3 separate regions of the Homo sapiens genome follow, and regions 1 and 3 are each linked to region 2. Evidence: promoter capture Hi-C in human tissues and cell types (Jung and others, 2019). All regions are on one chromosome and are shown on one strand. Each heading gives the region's core, a stretch centred on a gene start or on the middle of the fragment in contact. The rest is flanking DNA. Distances are from core to core; before and after follow the strand shown.

Region 1 (3,219 bases), core at 567-3,066, 620 kb after region 2:
ACTACGTAAGATTGCAGTTACGTCGCACATTGTCACTTTCAAGCCGTTATATTTTAACAGCATTCATAGTTGCAGTAACCAATCCTGTGTCTTGAGTCTGAGTGGCCGGCCTAGGTGATGGTCACCTCCTTTAAACCACAAGCCACTCCATCACTTCTAGTCACTGTTATTGTACTGAGTGGTCCAACATAAAAACCAGCTCACCAAGCACATTGGTGAGCTGCCCAAGGTCACCCAGCAACACAGGAAAAAGCCAAGTCCAAACGCCAGGCCTTATTGACACCTGTGTGCACCCCTAAATAGAGGCTGCTGCTGAAAGGGCTTTCCACGCCTAGAACTTTCTGCTTTCCCTTAATGCACTGATGTGGGTGGGGAGGTGACGAGGGAGGGAAAATGATCTGATGTCTAGAACACGTGGATACGGAGTCAGCAACAGAGCGCAGTGCCTGGAGCCCACAGGCACACCCCCCCGCCCCGCCACTGTGGTACCGAAATGAGCCCTTAGTACAGGCAGGAGTAGCAAGGCTAAGAAACGGGAGCCGAAGGGTCCGACACTGACTTAAAGGAGGGAAGGGCAGCTGGAAGTATATCCACGCATCCTGGAGGTCCTGGAAACCTGGTGACTCTTGGATCCTCGGGGTCCCAGAGAGGAGACCTTTGGAGGAAGGAGTGGGTAGACAGGTGGCTGCCCTTATGTGGGCAGCATGGCTGGGCTTCCCCTCTGGCTTCTCTGCCCAGTCACTCACACCACGAGTGATGCTCCACCTACAACTCAGCACGTCCTTCCTGCACCCAGGCCCTGAGCCAGGACCACCCACACCCTAGGAGGCGAGGACTGTCATCGTACTGTGCTACAGATGAGGTCGGCTCACATAGCTTGAGTGACTTGGCCAAGGTTATGCAACTGGCAGAGTTCAGATTCGAACTCAGGTCCACCTTCTCCTATGCCTCCAGCTGAGAGGTTTGCTTTTGTTTTCTACTGATAAATAATGATTTCAAGGGCAGTGGCACAGGACAATCTGAGTCCACGACCGGCCCAGCGCCCCTCCCCTGGGTTTCTGCAGAGCTGCCCTCATCAAATTGGTGTCCTCATTCTCTGGGCAGCCCCAGGGTCTGGTTTCTGAACAGGAATACATGTGTCCCTTAGCGCGTTACATGCCACAGTGGAAGGGCTTGAGAGTTTACCTCTCACTCAAGACTGTTTCTTTCCATACAGGCCCTCCCAGAGAACCTCCATACAGCCAGAGTGGGCACTGTCTCAGTCCAGTATTCCCCCAAAAAACACCAAGACCTGCTGCAAGGTCTCAGTACTTTTCATCAAAAGGTCCAAGGCTCAGGGGACCCTCATTCCACAGCCAGCATCCCAGGGATAGACTGAAGCTTCTTCAAAGGAGCTCCGCCCAAGGCTGGAGTCTGTCCATCATCCCTCCACCTGCCCCTCCATCCATCCCTCCTATATCTTGCTACCCACTCTTCCATCCATCCGTCTCTCAACCCATCCTTCCATCCATGCCACATTCCTCCACTCATCCCTCCATCCATCCCTCCTTCCATCCATCCCTCCCACATTCCTCCACCCATCCCTCCATCCATCCCTCTCACATTCCTCCACCCATCCCACATCCCTCCACCCATCCCTCCCTCCATCCATCCCACATCCCTCCACCCATCCCTCCCTCCATCCATCCCTCCCTCCATCCCTCCATCCATCCCTCCCTCCATCCATCTCTCCCTCCATCCATCCCACATCCCTCCACCCATCCCTCCACCCATCCCTCCACCCATCCCTCCACCCATCCCTCCTTCCATCCATCCCTCCATCCATCCATCTCTCCCTCCATCCATCCCACATCCCTCCACCCATCCCTCCTTCCAACCATCCCACATCCCTCCAGCCATCCCTCCACTCATCCCTCCCTCTACCCATCCCACATCCCTCCACCCATCCCACATCCCTCCACCCATCCCTCCACCCATCCCTCCACCTATCCCTCCACTCATCGCTCCACCCATCCCGCCGTCCTTCCCTCCATTCACCCCTCCATCCATCCCTCCCACATTCCTCCACCCATCCCTCCCTCTATCCATCCCTCCACCCATCCTGGAATCCACTCTTCCACCCATCCCTCCTACATCCTTCCATCCTTCCCCATCTATCCCTCAACCCATCCTTCCATCCATTCTTCCACCCATCCCTCCCTCCATCCATCCCTCTACCCATCCTTCCACCTATCCCTCCATCCTTCCACCAATCCATTCCTCCACTGTTCCCTCCATCTATCCCTCCGTCCACCCATCCCTCCACCCATCCTTCCACCTATCCCTCCATCCTTCCACCAATCCATTCCTCCACTGTTCCCTCCATCTATCCCTCCGTCCACCCATCCCTCCACCCATCCTTCCACCTATCCCTCCATCCTTCCACCAATCCATTCCTCCACTGTTCCCTCCATCTATCCCTCCGTCCACCCATCCCTCCACCCATCCTTCCACCTATCCCTCCATCCTTCCACCAATCCATTCCTCCACTGTTCCCTCCATCTATCCCTCCGTCCACCCATCCCTCCACCCATCCTTCCACCTATCCCTCCATCCTTCCACCAATCCATTCCTCCACTGTTCCCTCCATCTATCCCTCCGTCCACCCATCCCTCCACCCATCCTTCCATTCATTCTTCCACTCACCCCTCCTATGTCCCTCCCTCCTTCTCCCATCCCTCAACCCATCCCTTCACCCATTACTCCCCCATCCATCCCTCAACCCACCCCCACATTCATCCCTCCCTCCATCTATCCCTCCACCCATTCTTCCGCCCATCCATTCCTCCACCCATCTCTCCATCCATCCACCTATCCCTCCATCCATCCACCCATCCCTCCATCCATCCACCCATCCATCTCTCTATTCATCTCTCCATCCATTAAATTCATCTCTCCACCCCTCCCCCACCCATCCCTCCATTCATCCCTGTATTCATCCCTCTGTGTATCCCTCACATCCCTCCACCCATCCTCCATCCTCCACATAGAAAATACTGACTGAGCACTGGCTTTGTTCATGAGGAAGGGCAAGTGAATGTTTTGACTCTTCCCAACATGATGGGATAAAGGAATTATTCTCATGTCCAAACCACATGAACACACACATTGTGCAAATTCCATTTGTAGCTACATCATGCAAATTCAGCTGTCACAATTTCCTGGGAAATTATAGGTGTA
Region 2 (3,204 bases), core at 1-2,500:
TTTTTTAAACCACACATATACAAGCCTTCCGATAAGTCTAGGCCTCAGAGTTTGATGACTCACTACCACCTCCAGAAAAATTTAAAAATTTAACCATCACTACTTAAAACTCTAGCAAAGCCACACGAACACATTAAGTAAACCGAGGAAAAAACGGCAAGTGGGCCACACAAGGCTCTCCCTGCGGGGATAAGGCTGTTAATTTGTCGACATAACGGGATTCTTTTAGAAGTAAAAGGCATAAATCTGCGTAACCACCACCACCTTTTGTTTTTGTTTTTTTGTTCTGTCAAGCTTAATCAAGAAAGAGGGAAGGGAGTTGTGTCCCTTCACTTTGTAGGATCGGATCCTGTCCACCCAGTTCCCGAATGCTCTCAACAGTTACCCAACCGCCTGTTTCAAAGGCTTCCCTGTTGCTCAGAATGCCACCTGGACACTTCTGGAAGGAGACTATCAGGGAGATAGGCTTCCCCTCCTCCCAGGCTGTGTACAGGTCCCCACTCAATCCAGCCCAGGGCAGAGTCCAAACGGGGAGGGAGACGCAGACAGGGTCAAAGGGACCCCAAGAGTCCAGCACATCTGGGAAAGAGAAAAGGAAAAGGTGCTGTGGCTTCCTGTAGCTGGGGCGCACGCCAGCGCGCCCCCTTTCCTCTGGGAGGACCCCCGGCCCCCGTTCGTCCCCGAGCTCCCAGCCCGCCTCCGGGAGCCCCAGTGAGAGGAAAAACGTGCGGGGACCCCCCAGCAGCTCCAAACGCCGAGGCGCTCCCCGCGAGCCTCAGACCCGACCCAACGCCAGGACTCGCGCCGCCGGCCCGGGAAGAAACCCCCACAGCCCGCGCCCCGGGCTGGCTGGAGGGTGGGGGCGGCTAGCCAGGCAGGGCGCCGAGGCCCGGGCTCCGGGAGCGGCCCAGCGGGCAGGGGAGACTGGGCCCGGAGGCCGGGTTTGGGGCTGTCCAGCCGGGACAGAGGGCCCGGGCGGGGGGGTCCCCCTGTGGGAACAAGGAGTCAGGGGGCGGCCCGGGCCTGGCGCCCTGCGCTGGGAGGCCGACTCCGGAGCGGCCCGGGCGGCCTGGGTCGGGACCGGGGCCGGGGGAGGAGCCCGCAGGCCGCACCTGGTCGGCGAAGTCCTCGGCCGTGCCCATCAGGTCGTTCTGGCCCATGGCGACGGCGGGAGGCTCGGCTCGGCTCGCTCGCTCGCTCGCTGGCTCTCGCCCGTCGGCGCCCGCACCCGCTGCGGCCTCCACAGGAAGTGCCCGGCGGCCGGCCTCGCTCCGCGTCGGCTGCGGCTCCAGCGGCTGCCACGTAGGCCAAGCCTTAAAGGGGCCGCGCGCCGCCCGGGCCCGCCCCGGTGCGTCTTAAAGGGGCCACGCGCCATCCCCAGCCTCCCGACCCATCCGCTCGAAGCCACGCCCGCCGCGCTCGACGCCACGCCTCTCACGCTGGAGGCCCCGCCCGCCGCGCGCAGGCCCTGCGGTCCCTCCCGGCCCGGCGGAACGCGTCCCTTTTAAGGGGGCGGGGACCTGGGGGTCTGGGGCCAGCGCGCGGGAGGGACGCCTGAGTGCCTCGAGGGCGCCGTTCGGGCGGGGAGGATCCCGCGGGTCCCACTGACCCACGCGGGGTGGGGCCAGGGGTGGACGCTCGCCCGTACGCGGTCGCTACTGATCATGCTTGGGCCAGGGTCCAATCGCAGGCGCCCCACGCAGGGGGAGCGAGGCCCAGGGTCCCCCGGAGAGCCCATGGAGAAGTACCAGGTGCCGAGTGTTCCCTGCGGGGAGGCGGGAGCTCCGTGGGGTAACGGTCGCAACCCTGGAGCTACGGCCGGCGGTTCCGACCGAGGGCGGCGAGGGGCCCGCGCCCTGGCCAGTGTCGGCCTGCAGCTCCTAGGTTGAACCCGGGGGGCCTCCAACGGTGACCTCCTGGGTGCCCTTTGCCACTCAGTTTCCCCCTTTGTGAATTGACTAAGGATTCTCCAGCCCTGGCTGAGTATTTGAGGGCGTGGGGCAGCTCCTCTATCCTTCGTGCCTGGGGTCTGTGCGCTTGGGTCCACCGAGGCAGGACCCCCGGGAACATCCCGAGTACATAATTGGGAGCCCCCAGTCCCCTAAAAACACCCCTGCAGCGTGGGTCTGTGAAAATGTTTGAGACCTAAAAAATTCACAAAACACAAAAGGAAAGCTGCAAAATAAAAGTAAATGTTTAATTAAATGCTTCTATACATGATATATACACTTTATTAAATGTTAGATTCAGCATTTGTGAAAAATGCATTCGCTTGGAAACAGTTTGCGGGTTAGATTTTTGTCACTTTGGAAGAATTGTCTTTGTGTGAGAGGACTATAGGGCGTTGCCAGAGGTGAAGCAGATGAGCTTCTGGTGGCCAGATAATTTTTAAAGTAAAGTTGTTTTTCAGATTAAAAAAAAATAGACGTTTCAGGAATATACCTGCTTTTGGAAAAAAAAATAGACTTGATTCGAGATACGGCTCCATTTTACTGTTTAATTTGCTGCCTAAGCTTGAACGCTCTCACACCAGCTCTGCCCTCAGCCCGCTGTGGCTTAGAACAGCAGTCCCTGGCCGGGCTCGGTGGCTCACGCCTGTAATCCCCAACACTTTGGGAGGCCAAGGCGGGCGGATCACCTGAGATCGGGAGTTCAAGACCAGCCTGACCAACATGGAGAAACTGTCTCTACTAAAAATACAAAATTAGCCAGGTGTGGTGGCGCATGCCTGTAATCACAGCTACTCGGGAGGCTGAGGCTGGAGAATCGCTTGAACCCAGGAGGCAGAGGTTGTGGTGAGCCAAGATAGCGCCATTGGACTCCAGCCTGGGCAACAAGAGCAAAACTCTGTCTCAGAAAGAAAAAAAAAAATAGCAGTCCCCAACCTTTTTGGCACAAGGGACCAGTTTTGTGGAAGACAATTTTTCCACAGATGGAGGCGGGAGGATGGTTTTGGGATGATTCAAGCACATTACACTTAGTGTGCAGTTCATTTCTATTATTATGTTGTAATACATAATGAAATAATTACACAACTCACCATAATGTAGAATCAGTGGGAGCCCTGAGCTTGTTTTCTTGCAACTAGACCATCCTCTCGGGATGATGGGAGACAGTGACGGATCATCAGGCATTTGTTTCTCATAAGGAGCATGCAACCTGGATCCCTCACATGCACTGTTCACAATAGGGTTCACACTCCCA
Region 3 (3,426 bases), core at 377-2,876, 670 kb after region 2:
ATCCCAGCACTGCTGCTACATGAGCCCCCATGGCGTGCTGAGCGCTGGGCTCTTGGAGCCCGAGCAGGTCTGGAGCCCACCTGCCGGCCGTGGTCGTGCTGTTGGCCTTCTTGGCAGGAGCCTTCTTCTGCTGAGCCTGCTTGGCAGGCGGAGCCACCTTGGCCTTCTTCTCTTCCTCGGCCTTCACTTTGTGCTTCTCCTTCTCCTTCTCCTTGTCCTTCTTCTTCTTCTCCTTCTCCTTCTTCTCCTTCTTCTTCTTTGGTTTGTTTACTGGGGCCTGAGACAGGGCGGCCAGCTGCTCGTGCACGGCCTTCAGCTGGAAAAGAGCGGGCGGCTGAGCAGGTGCTGGGCACGGCCCACACCACTGGGGCTGCGTGGCGCCCTGGGATTGGAGGGGGCTTGGGGCGATGTCGGAGCTGCCTCAGCTGGGTGAGGAGGTGAACCAGGAGCACCTGGGCCCTGCTCTGCCCCTCACTCCCGTGACCCCCAGTGAGTCATGAGCCCTCTCCGCCTCGGCTTCTTCGCCTGCAGTGGGGAAGAGCTGCCTGGCCACAGGCTCAGCACTGCGCGGGTGGCACAACAGGGACTCGGTGAGGGCAGCTAACTTTTTAAAAAAAATGTATTATACTTTAAGTTCGGGGATACATGTGCAGAATGTGCAGGTTTGTTACATAGGTATACATGTGCCACGGTAGTTTGCTGCACCCATCAACCCGTCATCTACATTAGGTGGGCAGCTAACATTTTTATTATTACCATTGTTCAGATAAGGAAGGACTCTCTAGAAGTTTAAATGCCCACACAAAGGAGATTTTCATCAGTGATTTCTGGGAAGCCATTTGATAACACGCAGGACTCCGGGGTTAAAACAATCCACTGCCAGCAACCAGCATTAATCCAGGGCCTCCCTGCAGCTGGCATTGTGCCAAGCGCCTCGCCCTCCCCACTGCAGCCACCTCCATGGGAGAGGCCCCTTGAGAGGCACTGCCCATGTGAGTCCACGGCCTGTCCCTGCCTCTGGGTGGTCTGTGCAAGGAAGACAGAGGGCGGGTGGAGGAGCTGCCACCTCACAGCCGTCTTCCCTGCTGTGTGTCCTTGCCACTTCAAAATCAAATGTCCAGCCCAACTCTGGGGACTGCAGGGCCATCGCTGTCCTTGCAGCCCTGATTCATGCTGTTCCCCTCCTGACTCGACAGCCCTGCTCTATTTTCTCCCAATCTGGGGTCCCAGAAATCATGCATCTGGCTGGCTGCCAGAGGTCTGGGGAAACAATTCACATCTTTCTCAATCTGACCTCAAGACAGCTCAGAGTGGGTGACATTTGTCCCATACTGCAAACGAGGAAAGCAGAGAAGGGGGAGGAAGCACAGCCTGGCAGCGGGACTGGGGCTGGGCAGCTGCACGGCAGGGCCCTCAGGACCCTGGAGCCTGCACCCCACCCCACTGCAAGTGACTGCTTGGAGCCCAGGCACTACTGTGGCCTCTGCAAGTGCCTCACAGGCCTTTCTGGAGCAGAGCAAGGCACACATAACCACACATGACCCCTGAGCTCCCACCTGAGGCCCGCCAGGTCTCCAGAAACATCCCAGCCACGTGTCCCCGCAGCCACCCACGTGTGCTGTGGGTTAGGCTCGCACCACCCCAGACCTGGGGAGGGCACTCCGAGTGTCTTTACGGGGAAGCACTACCGCGGCTGCTGAGGGACAGGGGCAGAGGAAGGAACCATGCAAAGGGACGGACCTTGGGCTGCTGTGCCAGCAATCCCGCCTCAGCCCCTGAACCCCACCCAAGCATGCCAGTGCCCACCTGCTCCTGCAGCTCCGCCAGCCTGGTGGCCCGCTCCTCCTCCGAGTCCGAGCTGCCTGAGTCCGAAGAGCTCTCCTCACTGCTACGGCTGCTCTCAGCGCCCTTGCTCACCATGGGGGCCGCGGGGGCAGGCAGCGCCGGTGCCTCCACGGGCTCATCTGGCATCTTGGCAAACCTCATCTCAAACACGTCCTGCGGCAGAACAGAGGCTGCCCTGAAGACATGGGTGCCCATGGGGCTGCCCCTTGGTGTGGGCCCTCAGGGTTTCTGAGGTGCCCCTGAGGCAGCACCCACAGCTGTTACGAAGGTGGGGCTAGGAGGAGACAGGGTCCCGCCTGCCTGGGGGGCTGTGGTTGCTTCCAGCTTGCCCACCCTCCCTCCCCAGGCAATTCCTGCGGACAGGCCTGGGAAGAGGGGACACAGGAGCTGGCCCACAGCTCCCTTCAGCAACTCCATGAGCCCTCTCTAGAAGATGCATGCATCCTTGTAGCCTCCTGGCCCAAAGCTCCCTGGGGCTGCCTCTGCTGTGAAACGGGAAACAGTGTCTTCCCTTGAGCTTGGACAGGGTCCTCCACAGCCACAGGAGTCCAAGAGTGTTGACCTCTTCCCATCTCTTCACCCCGGAACTGACTGCAGCATCACATCTCATGAACGGTGAACTCCAAAAGTTGGCTTAAAAGGCCAAAGTCTAGTCCTATCCATACTTTATTTACAAAAAAATATAAAAATTAGCCAGTCATGGCAGCACATGTCTGTGATCCTAGCTGCTCGGGAGGCTGCGATGGGTGGATTGCTTGAACCCAGGAGGTCGAGGCTGCAGTGAGCCGAAATCATGCCACTGCACTCCAGCCTGGGTGACAGAGTGAGACCCTGCCTCAAATATATATACACACACACACACACACACACACATATATATACACACACACACATATACACACACATATATATACACATATATACACATATATATACACACATATATACACATATATACACATATATACACACACACATATATATACACAAATATACACACACACACACACACACACACACATTTTTAAGTTTTACTTTTACTAATTTTCTTTTTCTCTCAAGACAGAGTCTTGCTCTTTTGCCCAGGCTGGAGTGCAATGGCATGATCTCAGCTCACTGCATCCTCCACATCCTGATTTCAAGTGATTCTCCTGCCTCAGCCTCCTGAGTAGCTGGGATCACAGGCATGCGCCACTACTCCCGGCTAACTTTTTGTATTTTTAGTAGAGCCGAAGTTTCACCATGTTGGCCAGGCTGTTCTTGAACTCCTGACCTCGTGATCTGCCTGCCTTGGCCTCCTAAAGTGCTGGGATTATAGATGTGAGCCACCACGCCCGGCCTACTTTATTTTTTGTAGGGACAGGGTCCTGCTCTGTTGCCCAGGCTGGTCTTGAACCCCTGAGCTCAAGTGATCCTCCCACCCTGGCCTCCCAAAGTGCTGAGATTACAGGGGTAAGCCACCACACCCAGACTTCCTATCAAAATTGACTTTGGAAAGCCTTTGGACCAGGACCTAGGCCCTCCGTCACCCCTCTCAGCAAACATCCCCCTCCCTGGGGCAGCCCAGGCTCACTGAAGACA

The links. Contacts are between HindIII fragments. The study calls those that stand out against the background at their distance.
Region 1: a fragment that was not itself captured here is called in contact with the fragment with the promoter of SURF4 in region 2 in 1 of the 25 tissues and cell types used here (bladder).
Region 3: a fragment that was not itself captured here is called in contact with the fragment with the promoter of SURF4 in region 2 in 1 of the 25 tissues and cell types used here (dorsolateral prefrontal cortex).

Annotation. Positions count from the first base shown.
Region 1 is chr9:133,996,259-133,999,477 of GRCh38, forward strand. No RefSeq gene overlaps it. Among named protein-coding and RNA genes, the nearest start is that of VAV2, 5.5 kb to the left of the region's middle. The HindIII fragment of the contact is 5,321 bases long and covers 1-3,219 here.
Region 2 is chr9:133,374,810-133,378,013 of GRCh38, forward strand. It overlaps SURF4 (surfeit 4), which reads right to left and starts at 1,251. Exons shown (of 6, transcript NM_033161.4): 1 at 1,113-1,251. The coding sequence starts at 1,160. STKLD1 (serine/threonine kinase like domain containing 1) reads left to right here and starts at 1,557. Exons shown (of 18, transcript NM_153710.5): 1 at 1,557-1,751. The coding sequence starts at 1,665. RefSeq lists silencers at 676-955, 966-1,205, 1,296-1,795. The HindIII fragment of the contact is 3,873 bases long and covers 1-2,903 here.
Region 3 is chr9:134,039,954-134,043,379 of GRCh38, forward strand. It overlaps BRD3 (bromodomain containing 3), which reads right to left. Exons shown (of 12, transcript NM_007371.4): 8 at 1,807-1,998; 9 at 81-316. Among named protein-coding and RNA genes, the nearest start is that of BRD3OS, 16 kb to the left of the region's middle. The HindIII fragment of the contact is 7,257 bases long and covers 1-3,426 here.